Regions from separate parts of the Homo sapiens genome. Here regions 1 and 3 are each linked to region 2. Evidence: promoter capture Hi-C in 16 types of primary human blood cells and fetal thymus (Javierre and others, 2016). All regions are on one chromosome and are shown on one strand. The core of a region is centred on a gene start or on the middle of the fragment in contact, and the rest is flanking DNA. Distances in the headings are between cores, read along the strand shown.

Region 1 (3,267 bases), core at 531-3,030, 1.1 Mb before region 2:
GCTTGAGCCCAGGAGGTTGAGACTGCTGTGAGCCATGATCACGCCACTGCACGCCAGCCTAGGTGACAGAGCGAGACCCTGTTTCAAAAAAAAAAAAAAAACAGGTCTGAAATGCTGGCCTTGGCCTCCTGGGAACTATTTATTCAGGTAATCAACTTTCCAAAGTTGTTCTGTATAATACAGCTGTGACTTGGGAATTCTCTGCTATCCATTGTTCTTCTTACTTCGGAACAGGGCTCTAACACACCATCCACAGGATTCTTTTGCAGGGCCCAGTTGCTGCCCAGCTTGCAGGGCAAGGTCAGACTCACATTCTAGGTTGGCCCAGACTCAGCTGCTTTTAGGAAGGGCCAGAGTCCGGAAGCTAGACACCCTGCACTTTGGGTTCGGGATTATACCTAAACCTGGATGCCCAGGCCCTGCTTCCCAAGGGCTTCGAATCCTCTTGAAAAGTAGGTCATTTCAATAGAGATTTCCTCGTGAAAATTAAGAAGAGTGAAAAGTTAAGTCAAAGCTAGTAGAAATAAGAGTAAAGTATCTGGAAGAAGTGTACATGCTGGGAGAATTTGAGGGCAGCCAGGGTGAGTAGCAGAAAGGTGCTAATGATGTTTTTATTGCCTGTAACCTAACAAGCAAGTGAATATAAGCAAAAACTGTTGTGGCTGCTTGAAACAAGGAAATATATGAGTGGGAGAAAAAAATCAAGCCATTAGTTAAAGGAAGCGGCAGATCACAGTTGAGGTTGGTTCTGATTTATAGTCTTGCTACCTCTTTCAGAGGGTTTCATTATAACCCTCATTCTCTGTGATGCACTTCATAACTTTTCCAAGTGTATAGAATGAAGAAGCTTGCAACTAGAAGAGACCTGGAAAACAGTCATCTGTCCTTATTTTAAAATGAGGAACCTAGGCTTCAGAGAAGAATCACAAAATGATATAGAGGAATAATAAAATAATAAATACTTGGCAAAATCCTTTTACAGTATTTATTATTATTATAGATAATTGCAGCAATCATTTCCTGAACAGTTATCATGCAGATCTGTGATGAGCACATTCATCTGTGATGATTGTTATATTTAATGTAACTATGATATTATGATTATCCTCTGTATTAGTCCATTTTCACACTGCTATAAAGAACTACCTGAGACTGAGTAATTTATAAAGAGGTTTAATTGACTCACAGTTCCACAGACTTAACAGGAAGCATGACTGGGGAGGCCTCAGGAAACTTAGAATCATGGCAGAAGGCAAAGGTGAAGCAAAGACCTTCTTCCCATGGTGGCAGGAGAGAGAGAGAGTGAACGGGGAATTGACACACTCTTTCAAACAACCAGATCTGGTGAGAACAACAAGGGGGAAGTCAGCCCTCATGATTCAGTCACCTCCCACCAGGCCCCTGCCCTGACAGGGATTACAATTCGAGATGAGATTTGGGTAGGGTAAGGACACAGAGCCAAACCATATTATCCTCATTATATTTTATTTATCATTTTAGATGATTATTTTTGAGACAGGGTCTCTAACTCCTGGGCTCAAGTGATCCTCCCACCTTAGCCTCCCAAAGTGCTGGGATTACAGGCATGAGCCACTGTGCCTGGCTATCCCCATTTTAGAAGTTAAAAAACTCTGGCCATTCATGGCGGTATGCACCTATATTCCCAGCTACTTGGGAGGCTGAGGTGGGAAGATCACTTGAGTCCAGGAGTTTGAGACCAGCCTGGGCAACAGAGCAAGACCATATCTCTGAAAAAAAAAAAAAGTACTAAAAAGTTTAAAAATAAAAAATAAATAAATCCAGAAGCCTAGCAAGATTAAATAATTTGCCCAGAGTGGCACCGGTAGCTAGTAAGTACCAGACCAACGTGATCCGACCTTCTAGCTCACCCTCTTAACCAATTGATGAGCCCTTCCTTTGATTTTTAATAGTGCCATGGGTCATACTCCTAATTGTGACAAAATCGAGGCCAGTATTCATTCCCCTAAGGAACTTTATGAATCAATGAGTTGAAGTCAGGAGTAGAATCAATACACGAAAAACAAATCACCATGTTCTCTATAGTTGTTAGGCATTAATTTCAAATTTGGTTCTGGACTACCTAGCATCCAGAACAAATAGGAAAACACGAGCAAGCACAGCTGCAGTCAGGGTCCATGCAACAAAACAATTTTTCTAGAGAGGCATAAGTCCTCCTGCCCTGGGATAGTTCTTCTGTGATGTCTCATGGAGGGGAGGCTGCTGAGTGGATGTCAGTGTCGATGAGCTGTTCAATAAATGCAGTAGTGAATTTTGTAAGGCTGTTGCTTCATCTTTTCTCAATGTAGACCAGTGTTTAATGTCAGGGCAATTCTATGAAGGGCAAAGGCTGTGTGTTCCAAGTATACATATCTCAGGTGGTCTGACTTTATTCCAGAATAAATTGTAGATCATTCTATATAAATAACAACAGCTAAGATTTACAGGGCTTTTCTTTATGCTAAAAGCTATAAATAAGAACTGAATGAGCATTGTCCCACTGAATCCTCATACATTTGTCTCTTTGTTATTATCTCGGATCTATGTAAAATATGCCTAAGATTAAAAACCAGAAAAAAGGACTTCAGAATTTTGTTTTCACTAGGCGATTAGATTGAGCATCTTTTCTGTTTCCTTATACTATTGCCATTTTAAATTAATGAACATATTCTACTTTGATACTTGAAAAAGCTTTCCAGGAACTTACTTTTAACCCTCAACTTTGAATGATGGAAAAATCAAAGCGATTGATTCATCATAGCAGTAATTATGGACTGTGTGACTGCTATCCAGTGTAAGGTCCAATTGAAAAATAATTTGTGGATGAGTAGGTTAATGGTCAGTTGGCTTGCATGCTTTTATTTATTAATATCTTGTCTGGCTTGTTCTAAACAAGACAGTTGACTATTAAAGGTATTATTTTTCTAAATTTAAATATCCTTTTTCTGGTCTTAGTTTCTGTCATAAAACACCTGCTGTTGTGTATGGTTTTTTATTTTGGCTCCTATGGAACAAAGATCAGGGTATAGCAGGGATGAAGGTTTTGGTTGATTTCAGATTTCAATTGGCTTCTTAGTTCTTTTCTATAATCAGGAAACTGCATACACATTAAGGTTACCTTATTTTGAAATTATAATCGTAGCATTTTATGGAATCTCCTACAGATATTCACCCATCCATGTTTATTTAATTACCCATTTAGAAAACAGTGAATATGTTTCACTATACAGATGGGGAAGAATTAGGAGA
Region 2 (2,866 bases), core at 318-2,817:
CTTTTGCCCAGGGTACCCTACATGGGCCTTAGAGCCACTTCTCAGGCCTGATTTCTTTGTTTATTTGCAGCAGCTGCCAGAAAGCTATTCCTCTTTTTCAGATTCTGCCCAGAATGGAAACTCTTTCAGAGTTTACTTTTCATGACATCTATGTAAATTCCTTTCAGATGGCCTTTATTTCCTGCATGTAAACTGCTTGCAGATTAGAAGTCATAATCAAAGACGAAACGGTAATCCTGTCTCAAGTTAGTAACTGGCATCTTTGAGGAAGTAGACATTGGATAACATCTATTCCAATATATCTGTACCACACAGGAGTCAACCCCTTTTGGAGTCATATTTCTTGAAACGATGGTAGTTTATTTTAGCTTTTGTCAGATTTCTGTCTTGGTATTTCCTATGGAAATCAAACAGTAATTTTTAGACAATAAGGGTTCATATTGGTATATCCTGAATTAGTATTTTTTTGTTGTAAATCTTGTGGCCATCCTGAACTTAACACTTTTTAAATTGTGGATTTCCAATTATTTTTAGAGGTATTGATAAATCTTGTTCATATTCCTGTGAGAAGAGGACACAACTGAGTAGGAGGGGAAATGACATAGTCAGGAATTGATTGTTCCCAATACTTTTATTACAGGAGTTTTCTACAGGATCACAATTGAATTTATTTAATTAAGAGTAACTGTTGGTGATGTCCCAGTCATTTTTAAAAAAATCGAAGTACAATTTTTTTTTTTTTTGCTATTCGGAAATCAGATCTCACATGTCAGTTTACCATCTAAAGTCTACCTTCAGCTTTGCGGTCACTTAAGAAAACATACACTTAGGACCAGGAGCAGTGGATTGGGCCTGTAATCCCAGCGCTTTGGGAGGCCTGAGGCAGAAGAACTGCTGAAGGTCAGGAGGTGGAGACCAGCCTGGGCAACACAGCAAGACCCCCGCCTCTACAAAATAAACTTAAAAACAAAGCAAAACATTTGCCGGGCATAGTGGTACGCAACTGTACTCCTTACTACTCCGGAGACTGAGGCGGGAGGATCGCTGGAGCCCAGGAGTTGGAGGCTACAGTGAGCTGAGACTGCGCCACTCCACTCCAGCCTGGGCGACAGAGCGAGGCTCTGTTTCTAAAAATAATAATTTAAAAGCACATTTAGGAAGCTCGGCATCATTCCAATGTCTGGGTCCGAAAGCACTATAAGGCAGCAAGACACACAAGGTATCAAGCGTAAAAAAGAGAATTTAGCATCCCGGTGTGGATTTTCCCAGGCAAAAACGTGGCCTACGCTGGGTGCAGGGACCGTGCGGAACCGGCAGGTGCTTCCCGGTTGAGGACGCAAAGCAGCGGGAGCCCGGGGTCGCCGAGGGTCCGCCTGGGCTTAAGCAGCTCAACGAGGGAGGGCTCACCGGCCCGCGCACTTGCAGAGACGCGGTCCCAGCGACTCCGCAACTAGACCGTGGCCCCGCGAACTCCAGCCTCTTCTCGGCTCCGGGAGGGGCGGAGTGAGCGCGGGAGGGGGCGGGGCCACGCAAGGCCGCGCGCCCGCCGCTCGGCTCGGCTCGGCTCGGCTCGCTCGGTTTCGGGGTGCGCGGCGCGGGTCCGCCAGGCTGTGGCTACAAAGCCGCGGCGGGGCGCGAGCGCCGCAGGTGACCGGGGCTGGGAGCTGCGTGCGCGGGCGGCGGCTGAGGAGCTGGAGGCGGGCCCTCGCTCTCGGCCCAGGCGCTACGGGCTGAGGAGACTAGGCGAGCCGAGGCGGGCGAAGGGCTCTGGGCATCCACTTGACAGCCGGCGGCGCTCGCGGCCCTCAGCATGTTCCGCGAGGCGAGGGTTTTCCTCCCGCCTGTGGGCTGAGGCGGCGGCGGCCCCCGAAACGAGATGCACCTGACGGGCGCGGCTTAGAGGACGCGGCTGGCGGGAAGTCCCGGCAGCCAGCGGGAGGGCTTTCGTTGCCGGGCCGCCGCCGCCTCCCGTCGCCGCCGCGGGCCCGAGCGGGAGCGGCGGGTGGGCGCCCCGACATGGCGGCCCGGAGCGCCCCGAGCTGCCACCTGCGGCTCGAGTGGGTGTACGGCTACCGGGGCCACCAGTGCCGCAACAACCTCTACTACACTGCGGCCAAGGAGATCGTATACTTCGTGGCGGGGGTCGGCGTGGTGTACAGCCCGCGGGAGCACAGGCAGAAGTTCTACCGGGGCCACAGCGACGACATCATCAGGTACCGGGGAGCGGGGGCCGCCGCCGTCACCCTGCAAGCCGCTCCCGGAGTTTGCACCCGCGGGTTCCTCTGGACGCCGTGACCGCTCCTGCACGGAGCATCACCCCGAGGGGAATCCGCAGCTGTCTCTCTGGTCCCGAGTCCACCAGTTAACACCCTACAAATGCCTTTCCCCTCTTCCTCGTCTAGGGACTCTCTCTCGGGTCCGTGCAGGAAGATCAGGTCCGCGGATCCACCGGGCACCCGGTTTGACGGCTTTGTCCCCTTTCCCACTCCATCACAATTACGAAAACTGCGAAAAGGTTATTTTGGTGGCACTTTATTCCGTTAGATCCTGTGAGAAATTTCTTATTAAACGCATTCTTAAAGCACCCGGGGTGGGGGGAAACCCTTTACCTAATAAAGGACTGATGGAAGCACAGCAAGCGGTGGGCTGCTCCCGGGGAGCGCGCCCAGGGTGGCGTCCTGAAGGGCTCTCACCTCCTGGCCGTAATTATTAGTTCAGGTTTCACCGCCTGCTATAATCAGCAGAAACCCCAGGCAACCTCCAGGCAATTCACTGGATGTTAAAATGTGCACACCTGAAGGCAATTTAAGGTAGGTCTTATCTGAAGAGGCTGCTGAAAACTTCACTGATTTCCAGTTCTCTTCAT
Region 3 (3,174 bases), core at 7-2,506, 1.2 Mb before region 2:
GTGTTAACAATCCATACAGCAAATGAGTGGTGAGGCCAGAAAGCAGATTCTAGAGCTCCTGCTCTTCCTCCTGCAGGTGCTCCCTGAGGAATAAGGAGAGCAAACTAAGGCCATCTTTTGATCCATAACTGAAACATCTATTTGCACTCAGGCACTATTTTGTTTTTTCTTCTTCTTCTTCACCAGGAACTAAAACCAGGCTTTTAAGCAGTGGTTCTCAAACTTGACTGGGCAGTAGAATCCCCTCAAGGGCTCGTGAAAACACAGACTGCAGGATCTCACCCTCAGAGTCCAATTTAATGAATCGGGAATGGGGCCCGAGAATTTGCATTTTAACAAGTTGCAGGTGATGCTGAGGCTGCTGGTCCAGGGCCCATGGAGAACTACTACTGTTGTCAAGTATTTGCTACCTTGTTGATAAACTGTTACTCATCAAGCTTCATCTTAAAAAGTTAAATAATGCTAAACATCGTGCTAAGTGATATAAGGGGTTGAGCTACAGGGTTTTGAGAACACACGCTCTGCCTGAGTTAAGTAAACAGTCTGCTGTTATACTAATGCACTTGCCTGTCAAGAATTTTTTTCCTGAAAGTAGTTAAGAACACAAAGAAGAGTTCTCAGAAACTATTCTAGGCTGCCCTCCTTGTTTCACGGAGGAGAGACTCTCAAGGGCAATTCAACAGCTCCTTGACACCCAGCATCCTCTTACCCTTGATGTGGAGGGCTCCAGAGTTATACTTTGGCTTAACTCCAGAGACTCTAGTGAGGTAAAACTGGAAGGGGTTCCCTTTATCCAGCATGTCCCAAATGTCCTGGCCCTCCCCTGATGTCTCATACTCGTCTTCCTCCTCTTTGAGCCTGTGGCAGGCGGGAGCGCCATGATTTTCAGTTCTTTGGGCAGTGCCGTCATTGGGAGCAGAGATGTCTTTCTCCTTTTTGATCACCACTTTCTCAGCCTGCTTCTGCGGCATTTCTGGTTGCAGCTCATCATCACTGCTGGACAGACACCAGCCGAGGTCCTCCTGGGAACCGCTTTTCTGCCTTTTGGGAGGTAAAACTGAATCTGTATTGCTGAATTTCACAGGTGATATTTTCCTCTTGTGTGCAGCTTTCTGGGCCTCGGAACAGGTGTACCTGGGCTCATTTGCTGCTCCTTGCCTGGCACAGAGAAGAGAAGAGGTAGATGGCTTGTCTGGTTTTGGCTTTTCTTCCTCACTTTCATCACTACTAGATATGGTCCACCTCCCATAATCGCCTTCCTGAGACATTATACTCCTGGAAATGAAAAGTGGAAACATCAGCATTTCCCATTCATCAGGGCATTGGCAAAATAACTTTATTGCTCTCAACTTCCCTGTCAGATGAGCTGACACCTTCCAGAGGCTGAACCACCTAACATCAGCTGCTTTTTGGGTGTTTATAAGCACATTACCAGAATCCACTATCAGATTCTGCCAAATCACAAGCAAAAGTCCTGGTCACCTTTCTTTTTTCTTCCTTTTTTTTTTTGAAACAGGGTCTCGCTCTGTCACCCAGCTGGAGTGGTGCAGTGGTTCAATCTCAGCTGACTGCAACATCTGCCTCCTGGGCTCAAGCAATCCTCCTGCCTCATCCTCTCGAATAGCTGGAACTACAGGTGCACGCCATCACGTCTGGCTAATTTTTTTTTTCTTTTTTTTTGGTAGAGACAGGGTTTCATTATTGTTGCCCAGGCTGGCCTTGAACTCCTGGACTCAAGAGATCCACCCACCTTGGCCTTCCAAAGTGCTGGGATTACAAGTATAAGCCACCATGCCTGGCCTTGGCTTTCAATCTAAACTTTGTTCTTAGATGTCCTAGGAAAGGGGGTTGAAGAATGCATCAAGACAAATGCCAAAATAAAACAAACATTCATTCTTGACCCCGAAACTTCCAATAAGCGTTTGGGATTAAGGTCCATTTAATCTATGTTCAAATGCTTAAGGTCAAATTGGAATTTACAAACCTAGCCTTCACCCAAGTACAGGCACCCACAGGACTTCAGTGATTATGTATGTCTTACTTCCCAAAAGACAACCCATTTACCATAAAGCTTAACAAAGTCTTCAAGAGGAAAGCCAAATGACCACTTAGGTATGTACATTATTTACACTACTTCCATGAGGACCCAACTAATTATAATTAGTTGGATATAATTATATCAAGATATAATTATCCTATTGGCTACATCATAAATCTACTAACACCTACACAGAAATAACTTGTACTGAAGCAACACACTTTTATTTTTTAAGCCCCACAGTCAAATTCTACTTTCTTGTTCTGAGAACAGGAAAGTACACGAAACAGTCACTTTTGCTGTTACCTACCAAATCTTGTCAATTCAGTGGTAAAGGACTATCTAAGTAGACTTTCCAGACAGCTAAAGAACAGTTCCTCAATGTGATACTTTTAACATTTTAGCACAAGACCCAGGGGAAAATTACAAAACTCAGTAGTCTGTGCTCAGATCAACAGTATCTTCGAGTTTCTGCTGTTTTAATGAGGCTGGAAAAGATGCATTGAGTGGAGTAAACCAAGATGGTGACACTCCCTTCACAAAACCTACATTCCCCAAAAAAGAGAATTCAACATTATTCTACATCAAAAGATTTGCAAATCAATACATATGCATATGTCTCTAGATGAGAACTAAAAATAAAAATCTTGGCTAAGGGGACCCCAGAGAAACCTTAAAAACTGAGTTCCGGGCCATGATGAGATGGGAGCTCAGACATGCCTGTTATATCCCCTCCCTTCTGCGGTTTAAACACAACTGACCAGAGATCGTAAGACTGGCAGAATAGATTCTGTGACAATATGACACTAAATCATAAACAAGACCTAAGGCCATGCCAAGCAAGGGTTAAATCACACACTGCTACCTTTAAACTATGTTCTACCTTCCACAAGGTTCTTTTTTCTTCAGCAGCTAAATAAGCACTGGCCTAGAGATAAGGAATATCTAAACAATTGCAGCTCACCTACTGCCAGATGCTTGACTAACTGACCCCTCTGGTTCCACAGGCCATGACTGCAGCTGTCATTGGACAATGGAGTAACTTTCTCCTGAAAAGAAACCACAGACTGGTTCTGACCAGTCCTCAGAGGCTGAGCACTGAGTGCCTTCATGTCTCTCCTTCACCTTTTGACAGA

The links. Contacts are between HindIII fragments. The CHiCAGO score rates a contact against its expected background, and 5 or more counts as called.
Region 1: a fragment that was not itself captured here is called in contact with the fragment with the promoter of EML5 in region 2 in 1 of 17 cell types (fetal thymus); the score reaches 10.5 in fetal thymus.
Region 3: a fragment that was not itself captured here is called in contact with the fragment with the promoter of EML5 in region 2 in 2 of 17 cell types (non-activated CD4 T cells and activated CD4 T cells); the score reaches 6.2 in non-activated CD4 T cells.

Annotation. Positions count from the first base shown.
Region 1 is chr14:89,940,082-89,943,348 of GRCh38, reverse strand. The region is part of intron 3 of EFCAB11 (EF-hand calcium binding domain 11); the gene reads left to right. Among named protein-coding and RNA genes, the nearest start is that of EFCAB11, 13 kb to the left of the region's middle. The HindIII fragment of the contact is 1,862 bases long and covers 850-2,711 here.
Region 2 is chr14:88,791,654-88,794,519 of GRCh38, reverse strand. EML5 (EMAP like 5) reads left to right here and starts at 1,567. Exons shown (of 44, transcript NM_183387.3): 1 at 1,567-2,213. The coding sequence starts at 2,017. RefSeq lists silencers at 1,427-1,786, 1,977-2,056. The HindIII fragment of the contact is 21,479 bases long and covers 1-2,866 here.
Region 3 is chr14:89,961,209-89,964,382 of GRCh38, reverse strand. It overlaps TDP1 (tyrosyl-DNA phosphodiesterase 1), which reads right to left. Exons shown (of 17, transcript NM_018319.4): 3 at 710-1,275. The coding sequence starts at 1,268. Among named protein-coding and RNA genes, the nearest start is that of TDP1, 6.9 kb to the right of the region's middle. RefSeq lists an enhancer at 308-1,507. The HindIII fragment of the contact is 1,634 bases long and covers 440-2,073 here.